Regions from separate parts of the Homo sapiens genome. Here region 1 is linked to region 2. Evidence: promoter capture Hi-C in 16 types of primary human blood cells and fetal thymus (Javierre and others, 2016). All regions are on one chromosome and are shown on one strand. The core of a region is centred on a gene start or on the middle of the fragment in contact, and the rest is flanking DNA. Distances in the headings are between cores, read along the strand shown. Region 1 has its middle 22 kb from the start of SMC3. Region 2 holds the start of XPNPEP1 (X-prolyl aminopeptidase 1).

Region 1 (4,249 bases), core at 165-2,664, 620 kb before region 2:
AGAACAACAAAAATTATAAATGCAATAGCAATTTATATATTAATCATATAATACACACATTCAATAAACATGTACAGATTTTGCAATTATTTTTCCCGTTATGTTTATTCTGATTATATTTATTGAAATGCAATTTTGTCTGTTGAATATGATAATAAAATTTGGTTCAATTTTGTATATCTTTGTTTTTTAATGTAATGTGTCCAGTATTAATAATTCATTTTTATTGTACAATGGATTGGTTTGCAGATTAAAATTCTTTTAAAAACTGGTTCTTCGCCAGCCAATTTGAGAAGCACTGTTCTACAGGTCAACTTTATCTGTAAAGTGAGGATGAACTGCCAACTTTGGAGCAATCACAATTTTGGATTATATAAAGTCCAGCGAGTTATCAGAAAAAAAGGGGCCATGTTCAACATCAGCAGGAAAGGCGAATGGTTATTCTGAGTGTCACATCTTCATCTTTACCACTAGAGGGCGGTGAAGAAGTTCTTGTAATTGTGGGATGCATCACAAAGCCAAAATTGCTTGTAAACCGAGAAATTGAAGCACGCAGGAAAAAAATAAAACACAGAGTAAGATCAATTACCCAGTGAACATTTGTTGGTCGCCAATACTGTCCTGTAACACACTAAGACTCAATACAGAGGTCAAAACCCAGGGTCTATTTGTAGCTAAAATTCAAAATAGTAGGTAAAATTGGGATGGACACAAGATTAAAGAGATAGCTTTGCATGATGAAGAGTCCTGGAGATTAGTTGCATAATAACATCAACATACGTTTAAAAATGCTTAAGATGGTAAATTTTGTGTTATGTGTATTTTGCCACAATTTACGGGGGTGGGAGGAAGAGAAAGAGAGAGAGATTGCTTCTTTAGCCTGGCGTGGGCAGGAACTGTCTATACCCAACCAACAGCTCTAGCTCACAAGACGTGGAGAGGAGAGGTGGAGGTACACAGGCCAATGCATCACAGGGGTTGTGGAGCCTTTGCCGTGGGACCCACACTCACACACACACATGCACTTTTATTCTTAGTTCTGCCACATATCTTAGCCCATCACTCTGCCCCAGTTTTTCAACCCCTGAAAAGCTTAGGGAGCTCGTTTGCATAATCAGTTCATTCATTCATTCATTCATGTATTTGCTTAATGTTAACTGAGCACCTACTCTGTTCCAGGCATCCTGTGAGGTGCTGGGGTACAGCTATGATAAGACAGACAACCTCTGCCCTCAACGTGTTTACAGAGAATTGCCTTTTCTAGTTGAGGCCTTGAAGGGTCCTAGGAACTGTTTTTATCTCAAGTCAGCATCTCCTTCAATCAGTGACAAGTAGGCCATTTGGAGCCGCTGTCTCTAAAGTATTCTCTTGAAACCGTAGGAAGACAAGGACACAAGAGGGAGAATAACCACAGAACCACAAAGGGATCCAAGGTTGCCTTGACAACAGGATCAGAGGAAATAGCCAAGCCCTTGAGGTGCCAGGACTGGACTCTGAGCCTGGGCCGACTGTCCATTCAATGTCACCTTTTGACTTTGACAGGACTTCACTGAAGTGAGTCTTTGAAATCCAAAGGAAGAGAGGCCCACGCACTGAGGAACTCATCCCACGTCCATCCCAGCCTTGTTCTGATTCTGGAGGAACACAGGATGTCCTCACTCCAAAGGCTGCCAGAGACTGCTGGAGGCCGCACAGGAAAATAGGCAAGAGTCTGGCTTATGATTCTAACAAGCTTCAGTTAAACTCGGGCTGGGCCTCAGAGTCGCTGTGTAACAACATATGTCTGTCTGAGCCTCAGTTTCTCTATTTGTAAAGTAGAAATAATACTAATAGTATATAGCACCTCAGGGAATGTTATGAGGATGAAATTACATAATAAATGTGAAGTTCTTAGCACAGTGCCTGGCACACAATAAGCACACACTTAATGTTGTTTAAAAAAAAAAAAAGCTGAGCTGGACTCCATCTTTTCAAATGAGAGAACTGAGGCCCAGCAGCTTAGTAATAGTGGAAAGTTGATGAATTGTGGAATTATACCCAGTTTTGGCTCTCCCAGTAGACTTTGGGAAACTCACTTAGTCTCTCTAAACCTCCGTTTTCTCATCTGTGAAACGGAACAACCAGGTTGTTCTGAGGACTACCTGAGTTATGTTAAGCACCTGGCACCAGAACCTGGCATATTGCATTGTCCAGTAAAATGTTCATTTTTTTGTTCCTCTCTGTGGTTGTCCAGAGTCAAACTTGGTTCTAACTTTAAAATTGCAGCCCTCAAGGAGTTCATGCTCACCTTCACAATGCAAGCTTGGAAGTCAAGCAGCTCTCAACTCAAATCCAGTTCCTGACCTTGGGCACATTACTTAGCTTTTTTCTTTCTGCTGCAGTTTCCTAGTCTGTAAAATGAAGATCATAATAGTACCTCCTTCCCAGTGCTGGCATGAGGATTATGTTTTCTTTTGAAGTGTCCCATAAATGTTTATTATTATGTCCTGCAATCATGGCCCTAATCAAGAGGCTCTCAAGTAGATAAGTAGTATGCTTATATTTTGGTTTATTTGTGTACTAGGCTGTTATCAGAGCTGGGATTCACAGAGTTAGACAAGACTCCTGCTCTTGAGCTGCCCACAGTCTAGGAGAAGAGACTTAAGCAATAGCCTCATGACTGTGGTCAAGGGCTTTGATGAGATGCTGGGTGGCCAGTGGTTAAGAATACAGATTCTGGAGCCAGACAGCTGAAGTTTGACCTCAGTCCTGCCACTCTGTGATCTTGTGCAAGATATACTTAACCTCTCTGTGCCTCTATAAAATAAGGATAGCAATAGCACTTGGTTCATAGGGCTATTAGGGAAAGTTCAGTGGTTTCATATCTGCTTAGAACAGGGCCTGGCACATAGTAAGCACTCTATGCAGGCTCCTTCAATGAATAAAAGCTTACATACAGGCCGGATTCGGTGGCTCATGCCTGTAATCCCAGCACTTTGGGAGGCCGAGGCGGGCGGATCACTAGGTCAGGAGATCGAGACCACCCTGGCTAACACGGTGAAACCCCATCTCTACTAAAAATACAGAAAAATTAGCCAGGCGTGGTGACGGGCACCTGTAGTCCCAGTTACTCTGGAGGCTGAGGCAGAAGAATGGCGTGAACCTGGCAGGCAGAGCTTGCAGTGAGCCAAGATCACACCACTGCACTCCAGCCTGGGCGACAGAGCGAGACTCCATCTCAATAAATAAATAAATAAATAAATAAATAAATAAATAAATAAAATAAAAGCTTACATACAAATGACATTGGTAGCATTCAGAGGAGAGAGTATAGTTCTAGAGGAGGAAGTAAGGAAACCCATAAGAAATTGAGTACAGTTTCTATACCTCAGTCCCCCTGGATTTCACTCAAAATATTTCCACCAGCAAAACCTGGAAGGGATCGTGAAGAGTTTTGTGTCAGAGACTCATGGTCTGCAGATAAGGAAACTCAGGCCAGAGAAAGTGGCTTGCCCAGGTGAGGTGGGCAGAATAATAATCCCCCAAATGTCCACACCCTAATTCCTAGAACCTATGAATATGAAACCTTACATGACAAAACTGATTCAGTTCAGGATTTTGAGATGGGGAGATTATCCTGGATCATCTGGAGTGGCCCAGCGTAATCACAAGAGTCCTGATAAGGGAAAGAAGAAGACAGGGGAGTTGGGAAAATAGAGGTGACGACAGAAGCAGAGGTTGGAGTGACACAGGCCAGTGAGCCAAGGCACATGAGTGACCAATGCCTTTGCTTGTACCACATCTCCTTCCTCCGGGGTGCCCTTCCTTTGATCTGAGCTCTCATTTCCTGCTATTTGTCCCAAGGACCAAATTTCCTACTTTGAGCCTTGATAAAATGCTCTTCTCCCCAGTCCACCAATGCTACTAACAGTTATCTCTGGCTGATGGAATTGTGGGAGATTTCAGTTTTTTCCTTTTGGCTTATCAAACATTTTCCATATTCAGTAATTAACGTGATGTATCACCTTGCAGTTGAAAATTATCTATAAAAATAATTAAAAGGAAGTGAGCATTTGGTGATATCTAGTTTGTGCCTGGACTTTTCCATACGTTATCTCATTTACTCTTTAAAACAGCTGTGTGAGTTAGGTGTTATGGTGCCCATTTTATTTGTGGAGAAACTGACACAGACTTTTAGGTAACTTGCCCAAAGTCACATAGTAAGTACTGGAGCCATGATTTCCAACCAATGTCATCTGACCACCCTCTT
Region 2 (4,188 bases), core at 627-3,126:
AACTCCTTTTCTTTTAGGCAATGTGATTATTAAATACCTGTCCCCCTTAAGTTTCACTTATCTCTCTCTCTCTTATCTCGTTTTCTCTTATAACTTGATTTTTCCCACCAGCTTTCAGATGTGGGCTGGAACCAGTATTTTATTTACAATCTCTCTGTTTTTGGCTTCATAAATTTGGGGAAATGCAACAGATGTGTGCTGCTTTCCCAGGAAGCACATCTTTAGTTTTTTCATGCTTTAACTACACAGTCTAATTCGGCTTGCCTAAATGCTTATTCAATAACGACTTTGAGTTCTTGCAGGTAGCAGAACCTAGCTGATACAGGTATATTAGGCCTTACACCAAGGTCAAAGCAGGAGGAGGTGCCATTCACCTTTAAAAAAATGTGGTCACTTTCATTTAGTGCCAGGTGTTGTTCTAAGCACCAGGGAAATAACAATGAACAAGAGAGCCACCATCCCTGCTTTTGAGGAGTGCACATTCTGAAACATTCATTTCTGCAGAAAATATATAATGAGAACTTATGACATGTTAGATATTGTTCATCATTAAACAAAACAGAAACAATCTGCACTGATGGTTTTGTTGTGTGCGTGGGTGGTGGCAGGAGAGGGGGAAGAATACAGTACACATAAGTACATTAAAAGAATCCTGTTAAAAGGTGGTAAGTGCTATGGAAAAAATGAAGTAGGGTAAGGCGGATTAGGAATATTGGAATGATTTACAAATTTAAATAGGATGGTCAGGGTAGGTGATACTTGAACGAAGACTTGAAGGAAAATGAGGAAGGGAGCCTCAATATTTGGGGGATGAGCAAGTCCAAAAGCCCTGGGACATGAGTGTACCCTGCTTTTTCAAGGAGAGCCAGGAGGCCATTTCAGCTGAAGAAGAGTGAGGAAGGTGAGAACAGGAGGAAATGTGGCTGGGGGTAGATCAAATGGAGCTTTTATGCTGCGTGAAACGAGAAATTAATGGAAAGTGCTGAGCAAAGAAGTGACCTGGTGTCACGCTTCAAAGGACTGGTCTGGCGGCTTTGTTCAGGCTGGACTGTGCAGGTGCGGGATGGTGAGGGGATATTTGGGGGGCTGCTGTAACCACACGGGTGGGGTGGTACAACCCTCTGATGCACATCAGAGGGTAGGAGGTGGAGGTGGTGTGACACGGCCAGATTAGGGGTCTATTTTGGAGGCAGGGCCAACAAGATTTTGCTGGCAGATTAGATGTGGGGTGTGAAAGAGAAGAGGCAGGGAGGATTCCTAAATTTTGCCTCTTAAGAATAGAGTAGCCATTGATTGAGATGGCAAAGAAGACTGGTGGAGAACGTTTTTGCTTTGCTTCGGTGCATTGGGAGTTCCAGGAGTTCCGTTTGGACGTTAAGTTTGAAGGGGCTATTTACTATCCAAGCGGAGCGGAGAGCTGGATTTTGAAGCTCTCTGGGAACATACTTTTGGGGACATTTCTAAAGCTTGAGACCCTGTTCCAAAGCCTCGAAGACCCTGTCGAGGTTCTTCCGGAGCCGGCCACGTCCCTCTCTTCTCAGCCCTCCTAAATTAAGCCGGAAAATCCCTGGGACAGTAGCCCCTTTATTCGGCAAAGCCCTTTTTCCTCTTTGAGGAATGACGACAAAAACGAACAAAAATGAAGACACTCAGCAGCACTGCGTCCTTTCCCCGCTCGCTGCAGGGAGAGGCAATGCGGACTGGTGTGGAAGGGCAGGCCCCGCTCTGGGCCGCAGGCGCTGCGGCCGCGAACCCCAGGTCCGGGAGTGTGGGCGGGGCCTGCGTGTGGGCGGGGCCGCGGCGCCAGCGCCCGCCACGGGCGAGGGCGTGGCCGACCCGGCGCTAGCCCGCCCGCCCGCCCGCCGGCTCTCGCGCCTCCTTCGCGCCGGCCCTTCCGCGGGTGATCAGCTGGTCTGCGCTCCCCTGACGTGGGCTGGGGCACGTCACCGCCGAATGGCAGCCTCCAGAAAGCCACCGCGAGTAAGGTGAGGGCACTCCGCCGGCAGCCGGCGTCCGGGCAGCGTGCAGCCCTCGCTGCGCGGCCGCGCGTGTTGCACCTCGGCGGGCAGGGACGCGCGGGTGAGGAGCCCGGCCCGCCGCAGTCTGGCGAGGGCCGCGCTCGCCGGAGCCCCGGAACAGGAGCCGGGGGAAGGGGTCCATGAGGCCGGGCGAGATCCGGTTCGTTTCCGGAGGGTCGGTGGGCACGGGGCGGCCCGAGTCTGGTTCCTGGACGCGTATGCCCGCGGAACTGCTGCACTCGGCCTGAGGGGGCGGCGGCCGTCACAGTTCCTGGCCCGCGGGAAGGCCCCGTTCTTGGAGGAAGTTGGCCCCTCTTCGTGTCCGGGGAGGTGGGCGAGCCTTTGCCCTCGCTTCTGTTACCCAGGAATCTAAACCTCAAGTTACAATCTCGACAATACTGACTCCTGCAATTCACTCTACTGATCTGTCACCGCCACAAGGATAGACGGTCGCGGGCCCCTCCCTACCCAAATGGTTTCAGAGGCTGTGTAAGGGAATATTTTGGTATAATCTCCAGGAAAATCCCCCCAGTAGCCTGCCCTGGGCTCTCCTTGGGCATAGGAGGGTGAGACAGATAATTTCCCGGCCTCAAGTTAAACATGTTTTAGTTTATTCCCCTGCCATAACCAGGATGTACTTATCAGAGCCTCTGACAAAGTGGGAGACGGAGAGAGGTGTTCAGAGTTCATGGAGGCCACAGGCCAGACTCCCTGGCCATCCCCAAGGGGTCACCCACCTGCTAACCACTTGAGACATGAATGCACTCACTTTGCAGCATGGCCAGGCTTTCTTGCTGAACACAGACCATGGCTCCTGCTTGTGTTTGTGAGTAGGGGGGTCCCAAACCTACCTTGACCTGGATTTGCCGTTGCCACAGCTTGTTAAGGGTGAGCAGAAAACCAGACCCACCCTGTGGAAGTATGTGGGAGGGGTGGAGAACTTCCATCTGGAAGGAGCTTCCTGTAAGTGAAGTGCTGGAAATGGAGTCAGGCAAGTGGATAATGATGAGTTAGGCTGTAGGCCTCAGGTGGTCTTTAGGGGGCCAAGGTGATCTGTGCTAGATTTATAGACTCACAGCCTTTTAGGAGCAGAAGAGTCTTTTCTACACCAGCTGGTAGAGTCTTTTTTACCTCAAAGGAAAGTCCAGTGAAAGGCTGAGAGAGGGGAAGCCATTTTCCACAGGCGCCTCCCCTACTGGTAGAATTTGAGTGCCATTCCTTGTAAAAGTGAGCACTTCTTTCAGTTTCGGTAATGGAAACTGAACTCAAATTGATTTACCTAAAATGGGGTTGAGCTGGCTTCTAGTGTGGCTGAATCCGGGAGCACCACCAACATTGGCTTCAGACTTCTCTTTATCATCTCTTGGCTCTGATTTATTCAGTATCCGCTTCATTCTCAGGGAGACTTTCTCCTTATGGCAGGTTATGACAGTTCTAGGCTGACAGCCCCAGCAGAGAAGTTGAGCCCTCCTTCCTAATGGAGCAGAAGTCCCTGATCTGATGCTCACTGGGCTGCCTTAATTCTCATGTTCATCTGTGAACCAATCATTATGGCCAGAGGGAGGGATTGACCTGCTTTGGGTCCCAGAGCCTGTTAGGTGTTTGGATAAGACTGCTTTGAACCCCTTGGGCTGAAATGGAGAGGGTACATTCTCAAAAGGAAAACCAAGGTTCCCATCAAAAGGAGGGATGGATTCTGGGTAGACAAAGACAACATTGCTTACTTCCCAACCTTAGAACTTGTTCCAGTTTACCCTTGTCTCATCCACTAGGTGTGATTGAGCATCTTGTTCCTTGTTTTGCCCCATGCTGAACGCTACACATGTGTGATTCCCATGAACTGGGGGTTGCAGGGGGGTGAGGTATTCAGAACCCTGCCAGAATTTCTTGGAAAAAGAGGGAGAAGGCCTTTTCTAGTGCTACCATAACCATCTTATACAAAGATTGAAAGTGCTCTGCATGCTTCTTGCCCCTTACCCACTTTGTGGCTCATCATGAAGTTGAGAAGGTGTAGGTCGAAGAAGTTCTGGGAAGGGTAGGAGCACTGAGCTGGATGTTGGGAGGCTGGAACGCTGGTTCTAGCTCTGTCAGCAGTTAGCTGTGAGGCCTTGAGCCAGTCATTTGATCTTTGTTTCTTGGTTTCCTGGTCTAGAGGAGGGAATTGAGTTGG

Evidence for each region. Contacts are between HindIII fragments. The CHiCAGO score rates a contact against its expected background, and 5 or more counts as called.
Region 1: a contact is called between a fragment that was not itself captured here and the fragment with the promoter of XPNPEP1 in region 2, in 3 of 17 cell types (naive CD8 T cells, non-activated CD4 T cells and naive CD4 T cells). The highest score is 5.4, in naive CD8 T cells.

What each region holds. Positions count from the first base shown.
Region 1 is chr10:110,543,581-110,547,829 of GRCh38, reverse strand. No RefSeq gene overlaps it. Among named protein-coding and RNA genes, the nearest start is that of SMC3, 22 kb to the left of the region's middle. The HindIII fragment of the contact is 640 bases long and covers 1,095-1,734 here.
Region 2 is chr10:109,921,199-109,925,386 of GRCh38, reverse strand. XPNPEP1 (X-prolyl aminopeptidase 1) reads left to right here and starts at 1,876. Exons shown (of 21, transcript NM_020383.4): 1 at 1,876-1,985. The coding sequence starts at 1,954. RefSeq lists a silencer at 1,661-2,200. The HindIII fragment of the contact is 9,615 bases long and covers 1,469-4,188 here.